Regions from separate parts of the Homo sapiens genome. Here regions 2, 3, 4 and 5 are each linked to region 1. Evidence: promoter capture Hi-C in 16 types of primary human blood cells and fetal thymus (Javierre and others, 2016). All regions are on one chromosome and are shown on one strand. The core of a region is centred on a gene start or on the middle of the fragment in contact, and the rest is flanking DNA. Distances in the headings are between cores, read along the strand shown. Region 1 holds the start of TRIM22 (tripartite motif containing 22). Region 2 overlaps TPP1 (tripeptidyl peptidase 1). Region 3 holds the start of APBB1 (amyloid beta precursor protein binding family B member 1). Region 4 overlaps APBB1 (amyloid beta precursor protein binding family B member 1). Region 5 holds the start of CAVIN3 (caveolae associated protein 3).

Region 1 (2,774 bases), core at 84-2,583:
TGTATCATTGATTAAAGTATGAAGATGGCCATGCTCCATAGTGTCAGTCAGGGATCCATGTTATGGAAGCTCCATGAGTTGCCTTTTTTTTTCTTTTTTTTTGGGTGTGTGTGTGTATGTGTTGTGTGGTGTTTGTTTGTTTGTTTTTTGTAGAGACAGGGTCTTACTATGTCACCCAGGCTGCAGTGCTATGGTGCAATGACGCAATCTTGGCTCAATGCAACCTCCACCTCCTGGGCTCAAGCCATCCTCCCATCTCAGTTTCCTGAGTAGCTGGGACTACAGGTGCACATCACCACACCCAGCTATTTTTTTTTTTTTAATTTTTCTTAGAGATGGGATTTCACCATGTTGCCCAGGCTGGTGTTGAAGTCCTGGACTCAAGTGATCCACCCACCTGGGCCTCCCAGAGTGCTGGGATTACAGGCATGAGACACCACAGGCCTCCATCAGTTTTTGATGGCATTATCTGGCACATGCAGTTAAACAAGAATACAATAGACAACAGGGTACAGAAGTATGTGCATGACGTATAACATGTTTCAGTGCTGCTTTTTAATTGATTGTGTAAAAATGACCAAACTTTTCTTAGAGAAGCAGGGAAAAGTGGAAAAATTATGAAGGCATGAGAGTAACTCAATGAATGATTATAATTAAACAGCATCATCTGTTAACTTCCATGTTCTCACCTGCCTCAGTGGCTGGGTAACATGACACTGACACAGTTTTACCTCTATTACTCTCTGGAATCCATCCTCATCTGGTCTGTCTGGATTAGGAGCAGGAAGTGATAATTAATTGATGGACTCTTAAGATTTAATGACATTTTGAGAACATTTTTTTCAATGGGCTCACACTAAAGATCCTTTTATTTATAAAAATAATTTTTTTACCATTCACAATGTCAGCTGCTAATACTCATCTTGTCAGCCCAAATTTGTAGAGCTTTATAACTGAGTATCTTCCTCGTCAGACTGCATTTCAAGAAGCTAGGTCCCAAGTCTCTGGATCTTTATTTTCCTGGCTTAGGTCTTAAATATAAGATAAATTCGACTAATAATTATAGGACTGCATTGGAATTCTAAGTATTCAGGCAAGCTGTATAACTGTAATTCACATTCTTTTTATTCAAATATTCTTGCTTGAGTAAACCACAGTAAGAATAAGGAAGTAGTGACTGAGTGCCTTGCCAGTACAGCAGATGCTAGAACATAATGTAGCATTACTTTCCCCAGGGTTTATTGTTATGTAAGTTCTTGTTCAGCTTCCTTTGTTTTCTTTCACTTCTGAGAATTTAACTTTCGTTTCTCACTCAGCTCCTGTGGGGAAACTCATTTGTGGAGACCAGCCCTCTGGCTTGGTGAGTGAATCTGGTTTACACCGGCTCCTGCCCTGCCTTCACTCTTCTCCCCTGATTCAAGACTCCTCTGCTTTGGACTGAAGGTGAGTGGAGCAATCTGTGGGAGCATAGAATGGGAGGCTTTGAGAAGAATAGATTGATTGTGTCTGGGTGAGTTTAATTTGTAGTTCTGAAGCTGCTCTGCATAAACAAAAAGAGGCAGCTTGTGAACTGTCTGCTGAGATGGCAGAGGAAGAAAGCACTGAGTCTGGGAGAGGGGTAACCTTTAAAGAAGAGAGGTTTGCAAAAGCAAAAAGCCTTGCTTGTTTCCTAGAGGGACCATTCATTTCTTCAATCTAGGTACCTCCATCACCTTCCTTGTTGGAAATAAAGCTCAGAATCTTAAGGGAGACGAGCACTCAAACAAAGGATTTCTCAGCAAAGCAATTTTATTTCTGTGCAGAGGGGTGCTTCTTCTTTGCCAGTCGCCATGAGAGCACACTAGAACAAAGGAGGAAGAAAGTTTTTATTCCTGACGCAAATCCTACCCCTTTGCCCTTTCCCCATTGGCTGGAGTCGGCCACACAATCTAAACTAGACTCAGTTGGCTAAACATTTTAACTTTCTTTAGATAAGGTGGGCACGTGAGGGAGAGAGGGGAGATGGGGAAGGGGTGTGTGTGATGAGCTAGATAACTAATCTTCTTCCAAAATAAGGAAAGGAATGTGAGTTGGTACTGATAACGCCTGGTACTGTGACATGTCTAGGCATGTAGCAAAAGCAGAAAGGAAAGAGAAGAGAAGAAAAGTGAAGTGGGGAGGGGCACTGTGAATTAAAGAATAAAGGATTGATCAGGCTATTTGAAGAGAAACCTTATCATACCCCACATTCCTATTCTGTCATTTTGATTTTTCCATTTTGCCAACGTGGATCAGAATTTTCTTTTATTCAGAGGCAGCAAATTCCTTCCTCCTTTCTCCCGAAGAAGCCTGTGCAATGAAGCTTTGTTTTCACTTTTCATAAAGCAACCTCATGATGAGGTTCAGCAGGGATGAGAGCCCTTATCTGGATCTGGGTATGAGGCGAAGGAGTCTTAGGTACTCAGTCTTCAGAAGTAAGGCCCTTTTGAAGGTTATCCTTTTACTTGCCTTCTGGTAACTTTTTGGATGCTGTCCATAGCTTTCCTGATAAATTAGCAGCCCTCTGGTTAGTCCGAGGAGAGAGGCCGCAGGACGGGCAGACTGCTGCTCATCTCTGCAGCTCCACTTTGGTCTCTTGTCTCTGAAGGTCCAGTCACAGGGAACTTGTTCTTCTGAGTACCCACAGCTTACTCTTCCTTTGTAGCAGGACCAGCCACAGAAAAAACTCCTCAGACACCGAGGTAAAGAAGGAAGGGGTTTATTCGGCCAGGGGCATAGGCAAGACTCCTGTCTCA
Region 2 (2,500 bases), core at 1-2,500, 930 kb after region 1:
GCACACTTTTCTCTACAGAACACCCACCAAATCTTCCACTAAAATGCCTGGGAACTGACGAAAAGGAACAATGGGAGCTGTATCCCACACAAGAGATTTGGGGCCTGGGACCTGCAGGAAGAAGAGACAGGAGTACAGCAACCAGGGCAGGCAAAGCTTAAGGCTGAACCACAGGAGCACATGGTGGGGTCAAGACAAAGGTTCTACATCATGAGATCACAAGTGAAAGGTGGTGGTTATACCTGAGTGGTAGGCTAGAGTACTTACCTGGAGGCAGGGAAGGTAGGGCGGAACTGGTGTCTTCCAGAGACAGACCAACACCCGGCCCCACTGTCACCTGAGAGAGACCAAGTGTAGCATTCATATTAATTGGTTAGGGCTTAGTATGTGGGTTCGGATGTCAGAGGGGAAATTTGTTACTGTAGGAGGTCAGAGTGTAGAGGTCAGGTCAGTGGTCCCTACTGGAAGGTCTGAGTTCAGATTATGAGTCAGAGACCAGGCTCAGGGATCACTGTGGAGTCAAAGCTCCCAGGCTGCAGAGGTGTAAGCATTGTCTAAGTTTAGGGTAGGAGGTCACCTGAGGCGAAGAGCAGGGTGAGACCCCGAGCGGCAGCCTTCATGAGCTCAGTGTTGACCCGCTGGATGTAGGCGCTGCTGAGGGAGTCCTCATCATCTCCATAGCTCACAGTATGCACATGTGGCAGGGCTGACTCATTACTGAGCAGCATGAGCCACTGCAGGAAGGGCTCCTGTCCCTCATGCCGGCCTGGATTTTTTTTTTTTTTTTTTTTGAGGGATGGGCACAAAGATAGTCACTGGGGGTTGTCAGGATCTCTCTCCAGCTTATAGCATTCCCTTGAGGGAGCAGGGATCAACACCCATCTCCCACCCCCTTCCCCACTGTCCAGTCCTCTTGGTAGTACCAGGGCTACTGTAGACCCAGGTGGAGATGTTGGCACCAGCACTCATCAGGTACTGCACATCTAGACTGGCCTCAATCCCGGCCCGGCCCCGGCCCTGTTGTCCAACCACACGGGCTACTGATGCCTGATGTGCAAAGTTGCCACCGAAGAGGCGCATGAACTGAGCCAGGTCTGAGTCATGGAAATACTGCTCCAGGAACTATGGAGGGAGTCAGAGCAGAGATCGTGGGTCCGAGGGTGAGTCCCAGGGTGGTAAGGAATTGAGGACACTGTGGGGAGGCTATGAGGACCCTGGGGCTCTTTGCTTGGCTCACCTGGGCACAGGCTTGGCTGTTATTGCTGGTGCCAGAGCCCACGTCTTGTGAGGTCAAGTTGTATCGCTTACGGATCACAGAGGGGGTTACCCCCAGATGCAGGCCTACAGTCCCTGTCACCTGCGGCTCAGGACGTTGCCTCAGGGATGATGTTGGGGGAAAACGGTGCAGTCCCCCCACTGTAGGGAGAAGTCAGGCTTGAGGAGATCTTATAGACTGTAATGCCCACCTTACAACTCACCCCACCCCCAGTCCCCAATGGCATCTAAACTTCCTCAGCCCCTGGATCTGTGTGCCCCAACCCCCATTCACCCCATAGGTGTTACCAAAGTCCACATGGGGGGCCAAGGCCTGTGGAAGCTGGTAGGGATGTGGGGACCTTACAACATGGGTTTCCGTAGGTCCTCCCACATAGTGATGAAACTCAGCCCCAGGGAGCAGCAGCTCTGCTTGTCTGGAGGTCAGAGAACAGAGGTCAGAAAGCTCAAAACGGAACAGAAGAAGCTACCTCTGAGCATCCCTGGGCAGTCAGTCACTGTCTCCCCATGCATTAGCTCCCACCCACAAGCCCCAGCAAGCTCTCAACTCCCTCCCATCCATCTCACTGATGGGATGACTGGTGCCCTCCATGGAGCAATCATTTCCTCTCACCGGATGCTCAGCCAGCAAGTCAGAAAGTCCTGTGTGATCACAGAATGGCACTTCTGGGCTCCGGCTGCCAAGAGCCATTTTTGCACCGTGTGGAGGGTCAGTGGGGATGGCCTCACCAGATCAGCCACATTCTCTAGGGTCAGGTATTTTCCTGCAGGGATTCAGAAGAGGCACTTGCCCTCATTCATTGCTTTCCCAAACTCCCCCTTTTGGACCTCAACTATGAGACATCAGGACTTCCCAAAGCCTGGAACAGGGTAAAGGAGGGCTATGTGTGCAGGTGTAGGGTGTACTTGGGAAGCAGAGGAAGAAAAGGCTGGAGAGACTTGAAATGCCATGGCCAATAATATGGATTTACCCTAAAGGCCAGTAAGTTGCAAATGTCGCACCACAGCATGTATTGCCATGATCATGAAAATGAATGAGGTTAATACATATAAATTTTCCATTTTAATTTTAAGCTTATGTCCGGTAAATGTTTTCAAATCTTTCGGTACCAGTTATTCAGTTTAGCTCAAATTTGCATACTTGTTGATTTTAAGCTTAACACGATGGTGAGTCACTGTTTCCTGCCATGCACACTAGTGTCACACTGCCCCGTCCCCAGCCTCT
Region 3 (2,774 bases), core at 128-2,627, 730 kb after region 1:
AATATTTAGGCAGTGGATGTGACAGAACTTGGTGAAATGAGATGCAGAGAGTGAGAGAGGGGTTAATCTCAAGTCTTGCTCATGACTCCAGATTGGCAAAGAGCCATTTTTGAGATTCGAAGGAAGAACAGATTTGGAAGTGGGGTACAGAGAAAACCACAGAAGATAATTTAGCTTGGAATCTATAGGTTTGGAACTCCTGTTTGTCTTTCAAGGAGATGTCAAGAGAGCAGCTGGACATATGAGTCTGGATTTCAGGAAAGAAGTCTGGGCTGGATATATAAATTTGGGAATCATTAGCATATATATGAAATTTGAAGCTTTGGGAGTAGATAAAATATCTGGGGAGAAAGAACAGATACTGAGAGAAGACAGCTCGGGACAGAGCCAAGAGCCTCACCAGCATCTAAAGAGAGGAGGAGAGGAAGCAAATGAGATTGAGAAGAGCAGACAATGCTGTAGGGCAGAAAGCAGGAAAATGCTTCAAGGAGAGTGAGTTGACATACCCCACCGAATACTACTCAAAGGTAAAGGAGATAACAGTGTCCACTGGAGTTCTCCACAAGGAGGTCTCCGGTGACCTTGGCCTAGACAGTTTCAGTGGGTGTCAGGGACACAGAGTGGAGTGCTTTTAAGAATGAATGGGAAGTAAGGAAATGAAGACAGCAAGCGTTGACTCTGAAGGGCGGAGAGAGCTGGGACTATAGCTAGAGGGGCTCAGAATGCAAGAGATACACAGGCCGATACAAAACAGGTTAGGAATTGGCAGTGGGAAAACTGCTTCTAATCAGTGTTCTTGGCAGTGCTAGGCCTCCTGGCTGAGCTGGGGACACAGCCGCCCCAGGGCACACCCCTCGGTCGCTGAGGGCAACAGAATGCGGCTTGACAGATCCAGGGCCTGGGACCCCTGCTGGAATCGGCGCGGCCTGCCAGCCCACCCCACCCCACGTCCCCTTCCCGGACCTGGGCCTCCCCTCCCCCAACACCCACTGCCCCTCGCTTCGCGTCCTCCATACCCGCCCCTAGTCACCCCGAGGGGCAGGAGGTAAAGGGCAGCGGAAGGGACGGTGTGAGGGCCCGAGTGGACCCTGCGATGGTGGGTATGAGAGGACGGTCTGCGGGCGCGCGGTGGAAGGGCGACCCGGGGATGGGGGATGGGGCCGGCCGGGGGACCCGGGCTGCCGCAGGGTAGGGGCTACAGGGTCCGCCGGCCGCTGGTGATCGGGACGCAGCCACCGGGGCTGGGCCGGGGCAGGGACACCTCCTACCTGCGCGGTGAGGCCCCGGGCCCAGATGACGGAGGTGGCTCAGGCTGCGGGGTTCGGGCTCCGCCGCGGCTTCTCCATCACAACATCCCCCGCCCAGGAGCGCGCGGGCCGCGGGGCCGCGCCCCGAGCGGCGGAGGCGCGCGCAAGGGGAGGGGGAGGGGCGCCATCTTGGGGCGGGCGCGGGAGCGAGCTCGGCGGGCGCGGCACTTGCCGCAGCTTCTTGGGGGCCTCACCCTGCGGGCGGCCCTCGGACCTCGGTGAGCCCCGCGGTCCAGCCCTCCCAGCAGACACCCCTGCAGCCGACTCCCTGGGACCCCCGCCTAGCGCGGCGCCGTCCTCCACTACTATTCCACAGACTCACCCTGCGCGCCCCGCAGCGCCCTGGTCCCGCACCCACGCCGGGAGACGCGCGGACGGGGCTGGAGCCCGAATGGCGGCGGCTGTGCGGCGCCGCGGCCGCGCGGGGAAGGATTCCCGGGAGGCACTCTGCGCCGCTCCTGCTGCACCGCTCCCTGACGTCCTGGTGGGGAGGCTCTGAGGACACAGCGTTGCTCATAATAATAGCTCGTATTTATTGACCACTTACACCGTGCCGGGCTCTCTATTAAACCGTTAACGCGCATTAATCTTCACATCAGCTCTGTAAAATCACCAGAATTATTATCCTCATTTTTCAGAGGCTGAGGCTAAGATTAAGAGAGGTAAAGCGACTTGCCCGCAGTCACAGTTAGTGATGAATTTAGACTGGAACTCCGATGTTTCTTGACACTGAAATACCTCTGCTGCTGAGCATAAAGCTGACATCAAGGCCTGGAAAATGTCAAGAATACATTGCTCCCCGGTAGAAATTCACAAGGAAGGGGATATTGTGAATGAAAAGTGTAAAGATGTAAGGAAGATGGTGGGGTGCAATACTTACTACAGACCCTCCCTGGATAGTGGGATACATCCCAATGGTCAGATCAGTGACCCAGAGGCCATCAAGGATAATGAGAGGTTATATTACCATCCAGAAAGCCTCTACATGCTAATCCCTCTCAGGTGCCTAAAACTAAAGATATCCAAATCTGAGTTCGTTCTTTCTTTCAAGGCAGGGTCTCACTCTGTCACCCAGGGGCAAGATCATGGCTCTCTGAAGCCTCAGCCTCCAGGGCTCAGATTCCTCCCGCCTCAGCCCCCGGAGTACCTGGGCCACAGACATGTGCCACCGCGCCTGGCTTTTTGTATTTTAGTAGAGAGGGGGTCTCACTGTGTTCCCCAGGCTGGTCTGGAACTCCTGTGTTCAAGCGATCCTCCCACCTCGGCCTCCCAAAGTGCTGAGATTACAGGCGTCAGACACAGTGTCCAGCCTCAATTTATTGTTTCATCCCCCTTTATTAGTCTTTTAAGGAGTTTCACTGGGGTGAAAAAGAACCCTCTTCAACACACACAACACAACACACATCCCACACTGGACACAACTCCATTCCATCCATTCCAATGAATGACACCAACTACTGGCTTCCC
Region 4 (2,774 bases), core at 166-2,665, 710 kb after region 1:
AGACTTGTCTTTAAAAAAAAAAAAAAAAAAATTCTTTGCAACAATGAAGTATGTGACAATTATGCTCACTGTTTCCTTCTCCAGATGCTCCCAGCCCACAGCTGGTGCTGTAACACTAAACCCAGCTACAGGCTGCTGTCTGGTGTCCTCCAGTCATCTAACATCAGCCTCCCAATCCCACCAAAGCTTTTCCATGGGATGAAGGAGTGGGGTCTCCCTTTGTGCCTGGTTCAGCACCACTCACGTGGCTGATGCTCAGCGAAGGCGTGCTGACTGCTGCTATAGGCAGGACAGGAAATAGAGCTAGGACAGAAGTATGGGGAGGTGGGATGCATTTTAAAGGGTAGGGAGACACCAAGCATGAGGAAGGTCTGGTAGAAGAAGTATTGGAAGGCAGAGGGTAGGGGCAGAGTTTTAGGATCAAGGTAGCAGCCCCTGGGTATAGAAGGACACACATACCAACAGGTTTAGCAACAGGTACATTCCCCAGGTAATAGACTTGGAACTTCTGGACCAACTCATTCTTAGGCGCTGGGAATTCCACTATGGGAAAGAAGAGAAGGTTGATCATGGTGGCAGACCTTGCTCACCCGCAGCCCCACCAGCAGGGCATAAGCTGGACACTTGCCCAGCCGAGGCCCTACTTTCATCTCGTCCCCTGCCTCCCTTTAACCGGAGTCCCTCCACGTATTGGAGTATTCAGTCTTCATGTGTTCATTTTTCTATCAGCGCTGTCCAGGAGCTCATGCCTTTCCTTGGGTCACCCACCTTTGCCAACAAAGCTGAGCTGGACCTGGAGGGGTTTTGACACTGACCTTGGAAAGGGACATCCACAAGTTTAGAGTGGTCCAGGGAGAGTCCATTTACCAAGCAGCGGGCATTACGCCGTTCGGCCATGATCTGAGGAAGGAAGGGAGGCGAGGAGCCAGGGAGAATCTATTAGAGCCTCATTGCCCTGGGGCCCCCCTACAGCACTCAGTGACCCCACCCACACCCTTGTAGAGCAAAGGTGGCAACTAGTCCAGGGAGTGGAGGGGGCCGTGCCTTAGAGCAGATCTCATGCAGGCTGGTGGCGATGTTCTTGGCAGGTGCCTCACAGCGAAACACGTGGCACTTGAGCATCTGGGTCAGCTTATCACGAGCTACGTAGGCAAAGTCCCTGTTGGGGAAGGGGCACCTCAGTGTCTCCCAGTACCATCCAGTGCTGAGCCTGGTCCCCACCCCACCCACGTCCTCCCTGCCCATCACAGCTCCTCCAGGGCTTCTGCCCACAGCTGGTCCCCCATAGGTGCTGCCTTCTTGGGGGGGAGGGGTAGACAGGCAAGCATGCTGAGGTGGAGGGTAATGGTGGAGCATAGCGGGTGGGAAGGGGCAGGGCAGAAGAGGGGAGCTTGGGTGCTTCCAGGCATCTGGTCCAGGTGTAGGAGGGGGAAAATAGGCATAGTACCTCTCTCTGGGTCCAGCAGCACAAGAGAGGCAAATAACAGAGTTAGAGAGGAGGACTCTGATGCTGGATGAACTCCCACCCTCGAATCCCAAGCCCTATTCCCACCTTCCACTGTCCCGCCCGACGCCCCACACGCGGATGCTGATGATGGGTTGGGCGTGCAGCAGTGCCTGGCTCTGTGGCTCCACTAGCTTTAGTGTCTCATCCTCCAGCTGCAGTAGCAGATCCTTTCCCTGCAGGACCAGAAGCAGGCACTCAGTGGGACTCCAGCCAGGATGGTGGCTGATCTCTGACCCCTGCAGCTCAGGGGATGTTAGCCACAGCTCTGGGGCCCCTGCTTTGGTGTCAGACCGCCCGCCCTGCAGGCCTCACTCTAGTGGAGGTCACGTGTCATCTCTCACATTGACTCCACCGTTGTTAGGCGACTATCTCCCAAGGTCCTGGCCTGGGGTCGCTCATCCATCCCACAGGGCTGCCACTTAGGATGGGCCAATATCCCCCTTCCCCAGCCTGCTTGTGGGCAGGTCAGACCTCCCATCTCTCATAATTCCCTTCACACTCTCACAGTACCACCCCCTACCCCCGGCTCAGGTCCTTACTTCCCCCCAGCCCCCAGACATGGGGTCATGCAGGTTGTTTTTGTGGTAAGAGAGCTGACGGATGCAATTGTTGACTGCCACACTGCTGCGTCCAGGGGCCAGCTCCTCCTCGGTCATCTCTACCCAGCCTAGGGAGCGCACGGCGAAACACTGCCAGACACAGAAGAGGGGCAGGAGGTAGAGGATCTGAGTCAAAACTGGAGAGTTCCTGACTACAGAGTGTGGCAGGAGGCAGGGTGTTCTGAACTAAGACGGAGAAGCTCCCCAAACAGGATGTGGTTAGGGAGAGGGGGATGTGGTTAGGGTGAGGGAGATGTCAGATGAGACCCCAGCTAGTACAAAAAAGCACCTGAACTAAGACTACAAGGGCCCCCAACCTGGCTGTTGGGCTGGTTGATTTAAAAACTGAAGTGCCTCCAGCTCAGACACAGGGCTCTGTGCTGAGACTGGAAGAACTCCTAACTCAGGACCTGGGGAACTGCGCTGAGACCCCTCAGAGCACAACATTAGGGGCTGTCTGACAAATAAGAGGGCCCCAGACTCAGAATGGGTGTCAGTCTTGAACAAACCTTGATCCCTGGGTTGGTATTCCGTGGGGGAAGCTTCTCCTCCTCTTGGGGCAACGGCTCTGGGCTGAAGGCAGATGGTAATACTTGGCACAGGGCTCCCATAAATGGAGCTGTCCCAAGGCCCCTTCCAGACAGATCCATCCCACTGCCAGCTCACTG
Region 5 (2,774 bases), core at 1-2,500, 630 kb after region 1:
TCCAGCGTGGGCTCCAGCGCAGGCTGGGCTTCCGGCTGGGCTTCAGCGCTCCGGCCAGGCCCAAGGCGAGGCGGCTTGACCGGGGTGGGCGGTGGCGCTGCAGGGCCTTTCCGGCCCGAAAGGGCCCTTCGGAGGCTCTGTACCTTCTGCAATCCGGTGCGCCGCAGCCGCTGGGCCCTGGACTCCACCGGCTCCTCGTCCGAGCTCTCTCCAACTTCGGCCTCCAGCTGCTCTGGGCCCAGCTCGGACTGGTCCGCCGGGCCCAAGGGCTCTGGTGCCTTCTGGAAAGCGCTGGCTGGGACTTCACCCTCCTCCTGCATGTGACGGACACAGCACTGATCCTGGCAGCTCCTTACCCCCAGCAGCCCGAAACTCACTCCTTAATTACACAAGGGAAACCTTTTACCTCCGCAGCCAGAGTCTGGGGGGAAAGGCAGGCGTGGGAAGGTAAGGGGAGGGAAAGCTGCGTGCGAACTGCAAAACGCTGTAAAGTAGGTGAGGCCTGGTGAGGGGCGAGAAGAGGATAGTGCCCGCAGTCACGGAATGCCCTTTCAACCACCGTTATTTTAGGGATTGGCTGGGACTCAGACCAAATTCTGCGGACGTGGCCTGAGCTAGAGCTGGGCGGGCTTGGATTGGCCAGGCGGGGCTCAGGCGTGAGAGGGAGGGATGGGGCTGGGTCTTGGGAAGTGGGTGCGGCTCTGTGAGTCTGTTCCACAGCAACAGACGGCGGGAGGGGTCAGGAATGTGGGTGTGGTAGGTGGATGGAAGCGGGGAGCCCCCAGCTGGTGGCCCACAGGCCGGCAAAGGCCTCGGATTGGGGACCGTTTGAGGTCACTGACCTTGAAGAGCAGAACGTGGAGCTTCCCGCGCGCCACCAGCAGCCCGTGGTTGGCCTCCAGCCGCTGCACCTGGGCTGCGCGGCGCACCGCGCGCTCTTGGGCGGCGTTGGCGTGCGAGCTCACGCGCTCCGCCTTGGCCAGCAGCTGCGCCAAGGTGTTGCTGGTGGTGTCGTGGCTGCGACTCAGAGCGCCCAGGCCGCTCTGGATGCGGCGCACGGACCCTGCCAGGCCTCCCTGCCTTCGAGCCAGGCCTCCCTGCCGCTCCCGCAGAGTCTCCAGCATGGAGGCCAGCTTCTCCAGCAGGGTCACCACCGTCACGGCGTGCACGGGACCCCCCGCCGGCGCCTCGGGCACAGGCCCCCGCTCCAACGCACTCTCCCTCATGATCCCTGACCGCTCTGCTCCGTCTGCCTGCAACTGCTGGCCGCACTACGGTCAGGGGCCTCCTTTCCCTGGCTCCTCCCCAGCTCCAGCTGTGACTCAGGCAGGCGGAGTTGGCCTTCTGGGGCGGCGGGAGGGCGCGAGGGCGTGGGGATGTTGGCAGCGGGGTCTCTTGAAAGCGTTTCGCCTTCCGCTGTCCCGCGCCGGGGGCCTGCTGGGAAGCCTGTTGGCCCCAAATCGGCCCCCTGCAAACCCTCTCACTCTGAGTTTGAGTTACCCTCCTCCGCTCCAATTCCCTGGTGTGCCTGTTTCAGTTCTCCACTGCAAAGGGCGAGTCACGGAAATTTTTATTTCATGCATCTTAGTGGGCGCAGAGACTGTGTTGGCACGGCAAAGAGATAACCAGAGGGGCCTCCGTCGCCGTCCACTTTCGGCCTCCCACACCAGTGAAGATTGCCCCCAGGCTGGATGCAGGCGACAGGGAGGCCCTGGAACATTCTGCTTACAGATCGCGAACTGTCAAGGCCCGAGGCCCCGCTTTGTGACTTGGACAGGCTGCTCATTGTGGGCTGGCGGGCGGGGCATCCTCTGGTGTTTTCCTAATAGTCATCTCCAGGGTTTAGCCTCAGGCTTCGTTTCCTGCTTCTTTATTTCGTCCTCTTGGGTAGCATTATCTGGTTTCTTTTCTCTAGTTTTCTGCCCTCTCTTTCTTTGGGTTTCACTGGTAAATCTCAGCCGCCCCGGCCCCAGCACCCAAGCTTGGAGGATAAGCAGGACACCTTCACCTCTTTTAAAATCCTTAAAAGCGTTAGACTAGGCACTGGTCTTTGCTTTGATAGAGGTTACTTGGGCTCCTGCCTGACTTTTTTTGCTTGTTTGTTTGTTTCTTGTGTTCTGTGGAACTGCGGAGAGTAAAGATTTGAAATTGCTGCTGCAGAGAGGGAGAGAGTGGGCATGGAGGATCCAGTTAATGATGTGGATTGTGAATTTCTAATGTCAGCAGTTCGAAACATCCCATGCCTTAGCCGGGCGCGGTGGCTCATGCTTGTAATCCCACCACTTTGGGAGGCCGAGGGGGGAGGATCACGTGAGGCAGGGAGTTCCAGACCAGCCTGGGCAACATGGCAAAACCCCGTCTCTACTAAAAATACAAAAATTAGCAGGGCGTTGTGACACACGCCTGTAATCCCAGCTACTCGGGAGGGCTGAGGCAGAAGAATCGTTTGAACCTGGGAGGCAGAGAATGCAGTAAACCAAGATTGCTCCACTGCACTACAGCCTGGAGGACAGAGCAAGACTCCATCTCAAAAAAAAAAGAAAAGAAAAAAGAAAATCCCGTGCCTTGTTTGTAGCAATACTTGGCAAACCGTCTCACAAATGCAAGTAATCCATTAATCCTGATGATCTCTCTCCCTCTTCCTCTTCTCACTGAACCTGTGAGGGCCACTTGTTGACAACTGTGGAAGAAACTTGTGTCACTCTGGAAATAGTTACATGGGCCTGAAGTGCCACAGACGTGGGCAGCTAATGCCAGAAATCTGGTGATGCTAA

What was found. Contacts are between HindIII fragments. The CHiCAGO score rates a contact against its expected background, and 5 or more counts as called.
Region 2: a fragment that was not itself captured here is called in contact with the fragment with the promoter of TRIM22 in region 1 in 1 of 17 cell types (activated CD4 T cells); the score reaches 6.0 in activated CD4 T cells.
Region 3: the fragment with the promoter of APBB1 here is called in contact with the fragment with the promoter of TRIM22 in region 1 in 2 of 17 cell types (non-activated CD4 T cells and activated CD4 T cells); the score reaches 7.2 in non-activated CD4 T cells.
Region 4: a contact is called between a fragment that was not itself captured here and the fragment with the promoter of TRIM22 in region 1, in 1 of 17 cell types (non-activated CD4 T cells). The highest score is 5.2, in non-activated CD4 T cells.
Region 5: a contact is called between the fragment with the promoter of CAVIN3 here and the fragment with the promoter of TRIM22 in region 1, in 4 of 17 cell types (M1 macrophages, M0 macrophages, endothelial precursors and 1 more). The highest score is 9.0, in M1 macrophages.

The regions. Positions count from the first base shown.
Region 1 is chr11:5,688,457-5,691,230 of GRCh38, forward strand. TRIM22 (tripartite motif containing 22) reads left to right here and starts at 1,334. Exons shown (of 8, transcript NM_006074.5): 1 at 1,334-1,443. LOC124902620 (a long non-coding RNA gene) reads right to left here. Exons shown (of 2, transcript XR_007062561.1): 1 at 2,222-2,774; 2 at 1,771-1,840. RefSeq lists enhancers at 1,014-2,006, 1,128-1,467, 1,439-2,638, 2,054-2,153. The HindIII fragment of the contact is 4,665 bases long and covers 1-2,339 here.
Region 2 is chr11:6,615,738-6,618,237 of GRCh38, forward strand. TPP1 (tripeptidyl peptidase 1) reads right to left here. Exons shown (of 13, transcript NM_000391.4): 4 at 1,889-2,039; 5 at 1,564-1,691; 6 at 1,238-1,416; 7 at 924-1,122; 8 at 578-766; 9 at 268-337. Among named protein-coding and RNA genes, the nearest start is that of TPP1, 2.4 kb to the right of the region's middle. The HindIII fragment of the contact is 2,193 bases long and covers 155-2,347 here.
Region 3 is chr11:6,417,717-6,420,490 of GRCh38, forward strand. APBB1 (amyloid beta precursor protein binding family B member 1) reads right to left here and starts at 1,378. Exons shown (of 15, transcript NM_001164.5): 1 at 1,269-1,378. RefSeq lists silencers at 1,146-1,335, 1,346-1,745. The HindIII fragment of the contact is 2,464 bases long and covers 319-2,774 here.
Region 4 is chr11:6,400,530-6,403,303 of GRCh38, forward strand. It overlaps APBB1 (amyloid beta precursor protein binding family B member 1), which reads right to left. Exons shown (of 15, transcript NM_001164.5): 6 at 2,616-2,679; 7 at 2,047-2,196; 8 at 1,553-1,680; 9 at 1,448-1,453; 10 at 1,045-1,159; 11 at 816-900; 12 at 460-543. Among named protein-coding and RNA genes, the nearest start is that of SMPD1, 11 kb to the left of the region's middle. The HindIII fragment of the contact is 2,462 bases long and covers 185-2,646 here.
Region 5 is chr11:6,319,251-6,322,024 of GRCh38, forward strand. CAVIN3 (caveolae associated protein 3) reads right to left here and starts at 1,251. Exons shown (of 2, transcript NM_145040.3): 1 at 843-1,251; 2 at 1-314. The coding sequence starts at 1,226. It overlaps LOC101927825 (a long non-coding RNA gene), which reads left to right. Exons shown (of 7, transcript XR_930998.4): 1 at 1-447. RefSeq lists enhancers at 1-664, 1,208-1,257, 1,468-1,827, 1,838-1,897, 1,928-2,017. The HindIII fragment of the contact is 4,344 bases long and covers 1-1,979 here.